Linked DNA regions of Homo sapiens: all the other regions are linked to region 4. Evidence: promoter capture Hi-C in 16 types of primary human blood cells and fetal thymus (Javierre and others, 2016). All regions are on one chromosome and are shown on one strand. Each heading gives the region's core, a stretch centred on a gene start or on the middle of the fragment in contact. The rest is flanking DNA. Distances are from core to core; before and after follow the strand shown.

Region 1 (3,357 bases), core at 317-2,816, 680 kb after region 4:
CACTCCGTCACCCAGGCTGGAGTACAATGGCGTGATCACAGCTCATTGCAATCTCCACCTCCCAGGCTCAAGTGATTCCCTCACTTCAGCCTCCCAAGTAGCTGGGAGTGCAGATGTGCATGCCACCACATTGGCTAATTTTTGTATTTTTTGTAGAGTTGGGGTTTTGTGATGTTGTCCAGGCTGGTCTTGAACTCCTGGGCTCAAGCCATTCACCTGCCTGGGCCTCCTGAAGTGCTGGGATTACAGGTGTGAGCCACCGCTCCCAGCCCTAAGCTTCGTTTGTAAGTGAACTACTTCAAAAGGTTCCAATTAAAAGTTTGCTTTTAACTTTTCCTCCTAGATTTTGCTCTCTCACAGCCTAATTTCACAGTTTCTAGTGTTCCCTTTAAGACATCAATCAGATCATGTCTCTCCTACTCTTCTTAATACTCCTGCCCCTCAATGCCCAACTCTCACACTTCTCCGTAATCTTAAAATATATTCCAGTTCTCTGTTAAGTATTAACAGGGTGTGGGCCCCACTTAACACTTCGAGCTTATTTCCTACTTTCATTCACTGTGCCCCTGCCACACTGACTTTTTTGCGTTCTTTGTGTGTGCCCGACATGCTGCTACCTCTGCGTCTTTGTCCCTGCAGTTTCCTTGGCCTGGAACAGTCCTCCGCTGTTTCTCCACACAACTGACCCACTTTATTCACTCAGTGTCTGTTCAGTTGTCATCTCATTAGAGAGCATCCCTCACTGGAATATAAACCCCATGAGGGCAGGAACTTGGTCTGTTTTGCTCACTCCTGTATCTCCCAGCTTAGAATCATGGCTGTGGTTGAAGGAATGTATGAATTTATTGAGCATCACCTGCTAGCCATCAAGAAAAGTTGCCTGGATACATCCTTAGCCTCTTGTCAAGCAAACTGGCTGGTCCACCTTTTATTATACTCTGCATAACCTAAGTCTGCTAGGAGCTACCTAACCTACTTTTCATCCAGCCCATTTTTGTTTTAGCAACTAAAATACAATGTTTAAGGCCGGGCACGGTGGCTCACGCCTGTAATCTCAGCACTTTGGGAGGCCAAGGTGGGCGGATCACTTGAGGTCAGGAGTTCCAGACCAGCCTGACCAACATGGTGGAACCCCATCTCTACTAAACATACAAAAATTAGCCAGGCATGGTGGCATGTGCCTGTAATCCCAGCTGCTCAGGAGACTTGAGTCAGGAGAATCACTTGAACCCGGAAGGTGGAGGTTGCAGTGATCCGAGATCGCGCCACCGCACTCCAGCCTGAGCAACAGAGACTGTCTCAAAAAATAATAATAATAAAATAAAATGTAGTGTTTAAGAGCTCAGACTCTGCAGCTGGACATGGATTTAAATCCTAGTTTAAGCTGTGATCATAAGCAAGTCAATTAATTGCTGTCAGTCTCAGTGTCCTCAGCTTTAAAAGGGGGATCATCTGTAGCTCACAAGTAGCTGTGGGAATCCTAGGATATTTCTCAGTTGCAGGAAGAGCCTTTTTCCACAGCGCCTAATGTTTCTTCCACAGCGACTGATGCTTTTCCCACAGCGCCTGATGCTTTCACCCTGGTGCACAGTCTTTCTCTTGAGTCTCCTCTAAAATCACTCTCCATTTCTTTTCCTCAGTAAAAGTAAAAATTGAAAAAAATGTAATTTTTTTGTAAATAGTATATTGAACAGAAAATTTATCATAAACTTTTGTTAGCTTGATGGAATTTGATCAGAAAAATACTTTTGACAACAACCCAAGCAAAATGGGGAAAACATTCCATGTCCTGGGTATTCATTGACCAACACAATAGTCACTAGCCACATGTGGCTACTTAAATTTGATTAAAATTAAATAAAATTTAAAATTAACTTCTCAGTTGTACTAGTCCTATTCCAAGTACTCAGTAGCCATGTGGCTAGTAGCTCCCCCTAATGGACAGCACAGATTAATAGAACACTTGCACCATTGCCAGAAGTGCTTTGGATAGTCCTGTTCCAGAAAATGCTTCATTAGTGGAGGCTGGTAGAAATAAGGAAAGAAGGAACTTTGCTGTTTCCACTTTTTTTTTTTTTTTTTGAGTTGGAGTCTGGCTCTGTCTCCCAGGCTGGAGTGCAGTGGTGCGATCTCGGCTCACTGCAAGCTCCCCTCCCAGGTTCACACCATTCTCCTATCTCAGCCTCCCGAGTAGCTGGGACTACAGGCGCCCGCCACCAAGCCTGGCTAATTTTTTGTATTTTTGGTAGAGATGAGGTTTCACCGTGTTAGCAAGGATGGTCTTGATCTCCTGACCTCGTGATCCGCCCGCCTCGGCCTCCCAAAGTGCTGGGATTACAGGCGTGAGCCACCGCGCCCGGCCCTACTTCTGAAATTTATCTGTTTATTGTTTTACTTATTGAACAAATGTCCCAGGTCATTGATAATTATATATAGTCCAGAGACCTCTTAAGGACTGTTCCTTTTATACCATTCTTTTCTTTTCTCTCCCTTTCCTGGTGACTACTGTCACCAGCTGTAGCTGTTAGCTTTCTCCTTGTGAATTATTTTTACTGAGAAATAAAATTTATCCATTAGTGGTTATGTCAAAGTAAAGCTACTGAATTGTGCTGAGATACACAGGATTCTGTCACTGGCAAGGTGATTTGCTGTAGGCAATTTGAGATACTATCATGATTTACAGCCTTGCTGAACCAAATGAGAAATTGCTATGTCCCCAGAATCTCCTGTTGAACCTGTGGTATTTATTGAACTCCATCTGGTAAGGTACTGTCGGGAGGAGGAGATAACCATGGAATGGGTATAGAGGGAGAAGTAATTGATAGTTAAATACGAATAGCCAGAACTAAAGCTTATTCACAGGGAGTTCTGAAGTCTAGGAGGGGAGATAAAAGAAATTGTATATGAGAAACTATATTTTAAGGTGAAGGGTAAAAAATGCTTAGGAGTTACTTTGAAAACTCAGGGAGAGATTTTTTAAGGAAGTAATGGGGAATGTATTTTGGATAATCAGGGAAAGTCTTGTTGCAGGAGACATTGCTTGAACTGAGCTTTGAAAAATGGCCCTCCTTTGGACATGGGGACATGAGATTGAGGAGAGGTCACTGTTCTAGGTGGAAGGAATTAGTGGGATGTGAAGTTGGAAGAGTATGTTAAGGGCCAGATTATTAAGGGCATTGGTTCAGCATTTGGATTTTATTCTGAGACTCATGGAGCGATACTACCGAAAGGAATCAGCCACGGTAGCGACAGAACAGGAATTGTGTGAGGCATGGCGAAATGACTGCAGTGTAGAGGATGGATTGGGAAGAAAGGAAGTCAGAGAGCAAGCTGTAGCAGTTGATGGTGAGCCATTTG
Region 2 (3,234 bases), core at 157-2,656, 510 kb before region 4:
GATTTGAGACCACTGAAATTATTGCTCCCAATTATTGAACTGAAATGCTCTAGTAAACATTTGAGGGTCCTGGCTTCCACAGGTGTATCTTTTTGTGATGACGTAGGTGAAAGAGCTTGGGTCTCCAGTGCCAGGCTAATGATACACCTTTATCAAGAAAATGAACCTCATTTACTGCTAGAAAACAGACATCACATTATTTCTGTCTTACAGCAGAACTGGGAGGGAGGATAAAGCACACAAGTGATTTGAGGCATTTAATTTCGTAGTCATTGATTGATAGTATGACCCCCATCCTAGTTTGCTGAAACTCCCAGTTTTAGCACCCAAAATCCGACATCCCAGGAAACCCTCTGTCCCAAGCAAACTGGAGGGGTTGGCCATCCTACCATCTAAGGCAAGACCTCGGAAACTACTCTTCTCGCCCCTTGCTGCATGCGTGAGGTTTTTCTGATGTTTTTGTAACAGATTTCACAGTGGGCTTATGGCAAAGCCTTGTTTCACTAGGGCCAAACCGCTGCGGAGCAGTCTGGTTTTGTGCTGTCCATTGTGCTAGCCTTGAGGCTTTCTGGACCCCCGTGTTGCTGAAAGAACCACTGGTGTGCTTCTTTTTATCGACACTGTAGAAAGAGTTTGTTCATGTGATGAAGCACTAATGGGGCTCACTCTCCATCCAGACAGTGGTCTTGAGGTGTTAGCAGTGCAGCGGGTATCGAAGACGCAGGCTTGGCAGCGCACAGGGAGGGCTGGCAGAGAGGACAGTGGCATCTGCTACCGGCTCTACACGGAGGACGAGTTTGAGAAGTTTGATAAGATGACCGTGCCAGAGATCCAGAGGTAGGCACCAGTTGCTCCTGCACTGCTGCTGTTTGTCACCATGTCTCTCCTGCTTGCCCAGAGCTGCAGTTTTTACTCACACTCCACCATGAGGGGTTCTGACTCAATGGCAGAGGGATCAGGTCATGACCCTGGTCTCATGCTCTTCACAGGTGTAACCTGGCCAGTGTGATGCTTCAGCTTCTAGCAATGAAAGTCCCAAATGTGCTCACCTTTGACTTCATGTCGAAGCCATCTCCAGGTAAGTGAAATCCACAGTTTTGCAGAAGGTGGGTGAGGAGACAAACAACAACAAATGGACACTTCCAAAAAAATAAAGTATATTGGTCATCTCCTTTTGTTTATTTAATTTTGTGGATGACAACATTAGTTATTAGAGAAGCATCTGAAAATCATGAAATGATAGATAGATACATTGATTGACTTTTAAAGAGACAGGGTCTCACTGTGTGGCCCAGGTGGAGGTGCAGTGACTATTCACAGGCTCCATCACAGCCTCCAACTCCTGGGCTCCAGCGATCCCCCCGCCTCAGCCTCCCAAGTAGCTGGGACCACAGGCATGCGCCAGTGTTCCTAGCTATGAAACGATAGATTCTGTACTATCAGCACCATCAATAAAGTTCCTTGACCTCTGGAACCAGTGAAGGTCATCATGCGAGTCCTTGGGATACTACAGAAATGTAATGAAATTGTACTTTTATCAGCACAGGGACTGCAAAGATCACATTTCTTTGCCTTTAACTGGAATTTGATCCATCTCTCCTGTTCATTAGTAATTTCTCTACAGAAGAAGAAAATAATTGGAAATATTTATGATATTGGCTTTGGCACCTGGCCTCTCATCAACGCACCATTTTCCTTTTCTTTTTATTGCCCCCCCTTTTCTTAAGAAATGCAATTGGTTTAAAAAAGAAGGAAAGAAAACACAAAGTCACCAGTTGATGGGTATACAAGGGTCCTGCCCTGATCCTCAGGTTCACAGTTTCCTTCCCCTAGAACAACCACTGGAACCATTTTCTAGTAGACTTCTAGAGCAAATGTATGCATATATGAGTATATGTAGTGTGTTTGATTTTATTTATGTATTTATTTATTTATTTTTGAGACAGGGTCTCACTCTGGTTGTCCAGGCTGGAGTGCAGTGGCACATTCTCAGCACACTGCAGCCTCAACCTCCCGGGCTCAGGTGATTCTCCCACATCAGCTTCCCAAGTAGCTGGGACTACAGGTGTGAGCCACCAAGCCCCTGCTGTAGTATGTTTTTGTTTTTGTTTTTGTTTTGAGACAGGGTCTCACTCTGTTGCCCAGGCTGGAGTGCAGTGGTGCGATCCCAGCTCACTGCAACCTCCACCTGCCGGGTTCAGGTGATTCTCCTGCCTCAGCCTCCCGAGTAGCTAGGACTACAGGTGTGCACCACCATGCCCGGCTAATTTTTGTATTTTTTAGTATAGATGGAGTTTCACTATGTTGACCAGGCTGGTCTTGAACTCCTGACCTAGGTGGTCCGCCCACCTCGGTCTCCCAAAGTGCTGGGATTACAGGCGTGAGCCACCACGCCCAGCCTGTAGTATGTTTTAAAACACAAATAGCAACACACATTGAGTATTGTTCTGTGCTTGATTTTTTTTCTTTCATTGCTAAATTCTTACATACAAATGAAGAAGATACATAAGGTGTAAGGAATGGTTAAAATCTAACACCTGTGTACCCAATTGAAGCCCCCAGGAGTCCCCCCCACCCACTTGCCCTCGCCTCCTTCCACTCTTTTGGGGTACCCACTCTTCCATATTTTGTTTGTAATTGCCTTGCTTTTCTTCACTGTTTTACTATATGCGTATGTATCCCTAAACCACCTGTTGTTTGTAAGTTTATGTTAGTTATTCTTGAGTAAGCGGTTTTCATTCAGCTTGTTCCGTATAGTATATTTGTGCTGATGCTTTTTCACACTAAGTGCTATTCCATTCTGTGAATAAACCAAAATGCATTTATCCATCCTTCAGTTGATAAATATTGCTTTAAAAAAGCAATGAGAAACACACTGCTTTTTTTCATTTAATACATTTTACAGATCACTCCTTATTGGGATGTATATATTTACTACATCCTTAGAAATGCTTTTTTATTCTTTAATAGGTACTATATTTACATGGTTCAAAGTTTAAAATATATAAAATAGTAAATAGTAATAATGTCCTTCTCATCCCCTTGTCTCCCAGCCTCCCCAGCTGGCCCCTGAGACAACTGCTATTTCCACTGTTATGTGTTTGGTTCTGGCGATATGGTCTCTGTGCGATGTGTATCTGCAGGTGAAATTCGTAAGTGTAACATTGCTGGGTCAGATGTTACACTTTTAATGTGTATATTCAAAATCTACATACATATTGCCAAATTACAGGT
Region 3 (3,145 bases), core at 232-2,731, 530 kb before region 4:
TGGTGTAAATGGAAGTTTCAGAGAGGACAAAATAAAACGGAATTCCATTTTTCTCTCACTGTATTAAAGCTTTTGTGTGTGATCTTTTAAATTCTGATAATGTATTGTAGCCCTCCTGCGTAGATCTGAGCTCAGAACAGTTTACACAGCTGTTCTTCCTGTGTCTTCACAACTTTTAACTGGATTTCATTTCAGGATTGGAAATACGTGGCTGTCATGCTGTGGTTGTGTACATCTTACTAACTCAGAATGCAAGATTCAGCAGGAAGATGATTTATTTCTGTCATCTGGATAGGTTGTTTTGCATCTGGGTTTTGCCAAACTTTGTCAGACAACATGAAAAAAAAGGAGGGAGGATGGTTCTTGTAGCAGTAGGAATTCAGCTATAGGAAAGTCAGCTGTAAGCTAATGTGGCATCTTATTTGCTTTACTTACATTTCTCCATTAAGAAGTATCCAGGGAAAGATTGGTAAGGGCCACATTTTTGTAAAACTAGGAAGATTTTCATTAGACTTTTTTTTTCTTTTATTTTTAAAAAAGTTTTAATTAAAAATTTTTTTTTAAATACAGATGGGGTCTCACTGTGTTGCCCAGGCTGGTCTTGAACTCCTGGACTCAAGCAATCCTCCCACCTCAGCCTCCCAAAGTGCTAGGATGACAGGCATGAGCCACCATGCCCAGCCATTTTTTTTTTTTTTGCCTTTTTTGTTTTGTTTTGTTTTTTGTTTTTTTAATTAAAAAAAAAAAATAGAGACAGGGTCTCAGATTTTCATTAGATTTGGAAACCAAGTTAGAATGTTGACTTTGGAGCCAGACGAACAGATACCAGTTAGCTAGGCATATGTTCTTCCAGGGTCTTTGGCTAGTTAACATTAGTCATTTGCTTCGTGAAAATTCAAGAACCTTTTCAGAGCCAAGTACCTGGATTACCTTCCCAATCAGGTAGAAATTAGACAGGGTCCACAGAAGTAGACACTTAATGCTGTGGTTCAATAAATACTTCCCCTAAATATTAAGTCTTCCCTGAGTCTCAGCAGGTTTGCATTCACACTGCTTAAGTAACTTCCAGAACCTGGAAGAGTCGAAAGAGCACCCCTAGGAAAGAGATGATTCCAAACAGCTTTCATTAACGGCATGTAGGCACAGGTCCCTTTCCCAAAAGTGGATTGTTAGTAGTAGTTCATTCAACCTTTGTTAAGGGGTAGCTTTCCAGAATGTGACATTGTCCTCAGAAAGATAGACATAGGCTTAAACATAATGGACATCCTAAATAGGAATTTTCAGATTGTTTTTGAAGTGAAAAGTGTTTTAATGTCTTTAAATGGAATTGCATAACTAATGGTATTTAAGTATTTTACATGTTGCTAATAACTTTGAATATGATTGTTGCAATTTTATGGAACCTGGGTCTATGGGACTGCTTTTTAAGCAGTTTAAAAAAGGTTTTCAAAGTTTAAAAGCCAATCTTAGCATGTATAATCCTTATGGGATTCTTAAGTTTTATCCTATCTTGTTTTTGCTCAAGAACGCTTTATCAGTGACGTTTGTTAGAATTTTGTTTTTTGTTTTTTTTTTTTAAATTGTTTTTGGGCTAGAAATGAGTTTCTCTAGTTTTATTTGTTCTCCCTGAGTTGGAGTTATGCAATGAATGGCATTTTTGTGGTAAAATACTAATCCTAAAATCTGTTAACTCACTGTTCATTTAAGTAGGGAATATCTGTATACATTAATGACTAGGTAAAACAGGAAATACATTTTGAATATACAGCCTAAAGGCAGGCAGTTACAGGGTTTTTGATTTCTCCGATTTTATAGGGTGCAAGTTCCCAGTGGCAGGATGCCCTGCTGTGTGACTGACTACACTGTGTCCTGAGCAGTGGTAATTTCAATCACCTCTCATCAGTTTGGCCAGCCCTACAACCACCATTCCTAGCCCTGTGTTGCTTGACAGGATACCTGTGCTTGAATGGACATAAGGAAAAGTCCTTACTTTCTCCCCAATTTACCTCTCAATCTTAGTTCTTCCAGAACACACTTCCCTTTCACAATGCAAATAAACTGAAAGTGAGATTTGATACATGGAATTTTGAGACCAACCAACTAACCTTACACATAATTTGAGGGATTCCTGGATTCTTCTAGTGATACTGAAAAGCACACTTGACTAAAGCATAGTGTTTTTTGTTTGTTATGGAAATACGGTATACGTTCATTTAAAAATAAATGGACATACAAATTGCATCTCCTTAGGAGATACATTTTATATACATTTCGGTGCGTTTTTTTCCAGTATGGATTTCTATTTGTTTCTCTCTTCCTCTTGTTTTTTCTGTGTCACTCTTGTATGTCCTCATATCTTTCATACCTCTTGTGTAGTCTCTAGAAGCAGAACACCTAAGTCCTGGGTCTGGATAATGAAACCCTCAGTCTCTGGGGCCTCTGAAAATAAGGAAGCATTGGAGCTATTGCCATGTTGAGTAATGGGCTTCCTAGAACTATTGTCATCTATCCTGCCAGTGTTTTATGTTGTAGCTGTTTTTCTTTGACAGGTGAGTTCCAGCTATGTTGTTAGTCATGATCCTGCCATTATTTTCTGTGTTCTGTAGGATGTCTCCAGGCTACTTAAACATATTTTATGAGTTTGCAATAAAATTGTTGAATCTTGTATGATCAAGTCACTCCTCTGCTCAGAAATCCACAGTGACTTCTTAGTAAGCCCCTACATTATATGCATACTTGTTTTTTTCTTAACTTTACTCCCACTTCTACCTAACAGGGACCTCAACTTAAGTCTCTTCAGTTCTTCAAGGCCTGGCCTTGTTCCTGATTCCTCAAAAAATCTTGACTCTAAGGCCTATTTTATTGTCTGTCTCTGAATCCCTATAAAGCTTCAAGTCTGTATGACATTCTTAACGCCAAATTATATATTGTCTTGTACTGTTCCTAGCTGGTACATGTATATTAGTCTTGTCTCCCTCATGAGAATGTAAGCTCCTTAAGGGCAGGGACCATGTCTTAATTTTTGTATCCACCACAGTGCCTAGCACAGTGCTTGGCACATGGGTGCTGAATAAATACCTTTGTTTATTGATCAGCAAAGTATTATCTGGTATTTTTAATTATAGAGGGATTAAAGTGTATGCAT
Region 4 (3,151 bases), core at 652-3,151:
TTCAGTTTTCTTTTTGTTTTTCTTTTTTTTGAGATGGAGTCTCGTTTTGTCACCCAGGCTGGAGTGCAGTGGCGCGATCTCGGCTCACTGCAACCTCCACCTTCCGGTTTCAAGTGATTCTCCTGCCTCAGCCTCCCAAGTAGTTGGGACTACATGCGTGCACCATCACGCCCAGCTAATTTTTGCCATTTTAGTAGAGATAGGGTTTCTCCATGTTGGCCAGGCTGGTCTTGAACTGGGATTACAGATGTGAGCCACCGCGCCCGGCCTCTTCAATTTTCTAATTACCCATCTCACAAACAACTCGACTGCTACTAAGGCCCAACTGAGTTCTTGCTATGTGGCAGTCTTTGGGATGAAATACTACCAAAATTGCGTATCTACTTTGATCTTCACAATAACCCTAGGAAAACTTCTAATATCCCATTTTACAGTAAAACAAACTAAGGCTCAGAGAGATTAACTTGCCCAAAGTCATATAAGCAATAACTAGCACCTGAGACCTTCCTGATAAGGACCGTTGATCCTGCCTTCTGTCTTCGTCCACTTTCAGTCTCCCTGATAACCTCGGAGTTCCAGGGGTGGACACTCTGTCTTCTCCCTCTAGATTCTGGGTTCTACACTAGACGTGCTCAGTTCCTAACTTCATTTTCCTACCTCCAGTTTCACCCAGGACAAACCTCCCCAACCCCAGCCTAGGATGGAGGATCTTGCGAAATACTAAAAAAAGAAAAAAGACAGAAAAGGAAGGAAGGGAGGGAAGGAGGAAAAGAAAAGAAAGAAAATCACCTGGAGGCCCTCCTGGCTCAAGGTAGCCCCAAACAGAGCTGGAAGGTCTGCAAAGTCCATGCTGGCATTGTGGTCCGAGGTCTGCGGACAAAAAAGGCGATGTTCCCCTTCAGCCTGCAACCCTTCCTTTCAGCGCCCTTTCCCCATCCGTCCCTCAGACTCACCGCTCGAATGAGCCCCCGGGTCGGGGCCGCTCCCCACAGCACAGCGGCCACAACCACAGGAAGCGGGAAGGCTGCAGGGTGCATGGCAGCGGGAGGAAAGAGGCTGAGGAGGCCGCGCGTCCTGGTAGCAAGGAGCAGAAGCGGAGTTCTGCGCCCTCCCTGCCCCTCCTTTAGGATCCCAGGGGTCCAACCACCCCCAGGTCCCACTTCCCAGCTACATGGGGGCGCCGGGGAAGGAACACCAACTCAAAGAATGAGATATCCAACCCGTTTAGTGGAGCTGGGTGGGAGGCACTAAATGTATCCTTTTCTGGTACGGGGATAAAACGCGGAAAGGGGACGGAGCCTAACACAGGTGACAGAAAAACTTCGGGAAGGGTGGCGGAGCTCAAGGAGGTGGGACTTCCTGCTAGGTGGGCCGTGTTCCCAGCCTCTGGAAAAGGGCTTCCGGTAGAGAAAATCAGGCCGCTTTCAGCATTGGATGCTTGAGATGAAGGACTTCCGGTCCTAAAAGGCCGGTTAAAAAAAGGTTAGCGATGGAGGGACTGCCTGTGGAGATGGAAGGGGCACTGGTGGCCCAGAAGACGACCTAATAAAAGTGCCCGGAAACCCGGAGCCTCCTAGTTTACAAACCTCTCCTCCCTCTGGCCTCCGCCGCTCCTTCAAATCTCGCGAGAGTGCTCACCACCTCTCCCGTCCCCTCGCAGCTGAATAGTTGCTGTGTCTATCGCGAGAGCGCTCCAACTTGGCGAGCCGTACTCACTCGATCTCGCGAGACCTTCAAACAAACTCTTCTCTATTTTCCCGCGATTCTAATTCGGTGAAAACAGCGCCTTTCCTCTGGTTTCCAAATCAGTTACGCCCCTTCTCGCACGCTTCCATCAAGCTCCTCCTTCAGCTCCGCCTTACTCCCGGCCGCCTTTGCGCTGCGCGCCTGCGCCCGCGCCGGCTTCCAGCGGGTGTCGGACCTGAGAGCTGGAGGGGCGTGCGCGCGCCCTCGCTCTGTTGCGCGCGCGGTGTCACCTTGGGCGCGAGCGGGGCCGCGCGCGCACGGGACCCGGAGCCGAGGGCCATTGAGTGGCGATGGCGGCGACGGCGAGTGCCGGGGCCGGCGGGATAGACGGGAAGCCCCGTACCTCCCCTAAGTCCGTCAAGTTCCTGTTTGGGGGCCTGGCCGGGTAAGCTCAGGCCCCAGGGATGGGAAAAGAGGAGGAAGGGAAGGGCAAAAGGAACCGGGCCCGGTTCATCTCTGGGTCTGTTGCAGTGAACTGTGCCGGCACGGGGTCAGCGCGATCTCCAGCGTATTGCGAGTTCCCCGATGGGCTGCTAGGGCCCCATTGCAGGACCCTTATGGACTGCATGCAGGGTCGTTGCACAACCCCCGCCGGGCCAGCTGAGTTTCCCAGCGCATTGCTAAGCTCGGCCGGGCGGCAGGGGGTTCCAGGCCATTAAATGGCTCCTGCAGGACTACCTGGAGTCCTAAATCTTGGATGCCCCTTCCTCCCCTCCCTGTGTCGGACTGCGTGCAGCCCCAGGTCACTGCTTGACTGTCATGAAGCTGCTTGGAGCACTTTCATTGCATGGCCCCTACTGGACAACTAGACTTTTCAGACCCGTTGCACTTGGTGTACATATAGACTCTTATACACATGCTCACCAGCATCCTGATTCTTGAATCGCATGGCAGGCCCTGACCTTTGTAACCTCTTGCTGCCAGGCTCCAGTGGGCACTGGTAGATCTGGAATGCCTGGCCCTTCACTCCACCTCTGTCTTCCCCCAGGATGGGAGCTACAGTTTTTGTCCAGCCCCTGGACCTGGTGAAGAACCGGATGCAGTTGAGCGGGGAAGGGGCCAAGACTCGAGAGTACAAAACCAGCTTCCATGCCCTCACCAGTATCCTGAAGGCAGAAGGCCTGAGGGGCATTTACACTGGGTATTGGGGCCTCAGGATGGAGGGTAGACTGTGGGTTGGCAGCTCTAGACCTTGGCCTGATATGCTGACCCCTCTGCTCCTCAGGCTGTCGGCTGGCCTGCTGCGTCAGGCCACCTACACCACTACCCGCCTTGGCATCTATACCGTGCTGTTTGAGCGCCTGACTGGGGCTGATGGTACTCCCCCTGGCTTTCTGCTGAAGGCTGTGATTGGCATGACCGCAGGTGCCACTGGTGCCTTTGTGGGAACACCAGCCGAAGTGGC

What was found. The method cuts DNA at HindIII sites, captures the fragments that hold promoters and counts their contacts. A CHiCAGO score of 5 or more calls a contact.
Region 1: a fragment that was not itself captured here is called in contact with the fragment with the promoter of SLC25A11 in region 4 in 2 of 17 cell types (total CD4 T cells and activated CD4 T cells); the score reaches 5.1 in total CD4 T cells.
Region 2: a contact is called between a fragment that was not itself captured here and the fragment with the promoter of SLC25A11 in region 4, in 1 of 17 cell types (naive B cells). The highest score is 5.4, in naive B cells.
Region 3: a fragment that was not itself captured here is called in contact with the fragment with the promoter of SLC25A11 in region 4 in 1 of 17 cell types (naive B cells); the score reaches 5.6 in naive B cells.

What each region holds. Positions count from the first base shown.
Region 1 is chr17:4,257,249-4,260,605 of GRCh38, reverse strand. The region is part of intron 1 of ANKFY1 (ankyrin repeat and FYVE domain containing 1); the gene reads left to right. Among named protein-coding and RNA genes, the nearest start is that of ANKFY1, 5.1 kb to the left of the region's middle. The HindIII fragment of the contact is 2,575 bases long and covers 279-2,853 here.
Region 2 is chr17:5,451,424-5,454,657 of GRCh38, reverse strand. DHX33 (DEAH-box helicase 33) reads left to right here. Exons shown (of 12, transcript NM_020162.4): 7 at 678-837; 8 at 990-1,078. Among named protein-coding and RNA genes, the nearest start is that of C1QBP, 14 kb to the right of the region's middle. The HindIII fragment of the contact is 6,981 bases long and covers 1-3,234 here.
Region 3 is chr17:5,471,208-5,474,352 of GRCh38, reverse strand. It overlaps DERL2 (derlin 2), which reads left to right. Exons shown (of 7, transcript NM_016041.5): 7 at 1-3,099. Among named protein-coding and RNA genes, the nearest start is that of DHX33-DT, 3.7 kb to the right of the region's middle. The HindIII fragment of the contact is 2,819 bases long and covers 72-2,890 here.
Region 4 is chr17:4,938,796-4,941,946 of GRCh38, reverse strand. It overlaps SLC25A11 (solute carrier family 25 member 11), which reads left to right and starts at 1,901. Exons shown (of 8, transcript NM_003562.5): 1 at 1,901-2,131; 2 at 2,735-2,887; 3 at 2,972-3,151. The coding sequence starts at 2,037. It overlaps RNF167 (ring finger protein 167), which reads right to left and starts at 1,679. Exons shown (of 10, transcript NM_015528.3): 1 at 1,587-1,679; 2 at 954-1,460; 3 at 790-870. The coding sequence starts at 1,037. RefSeq lists enhancers at 772-901, 1,782-1,851, 2,568-3,093, 3,094-3,151 and silencers at 1,235-1,429, 1,992-2,061. The HindIII fragment of the contact is 8,197 bases long and covers 1-3,151 here.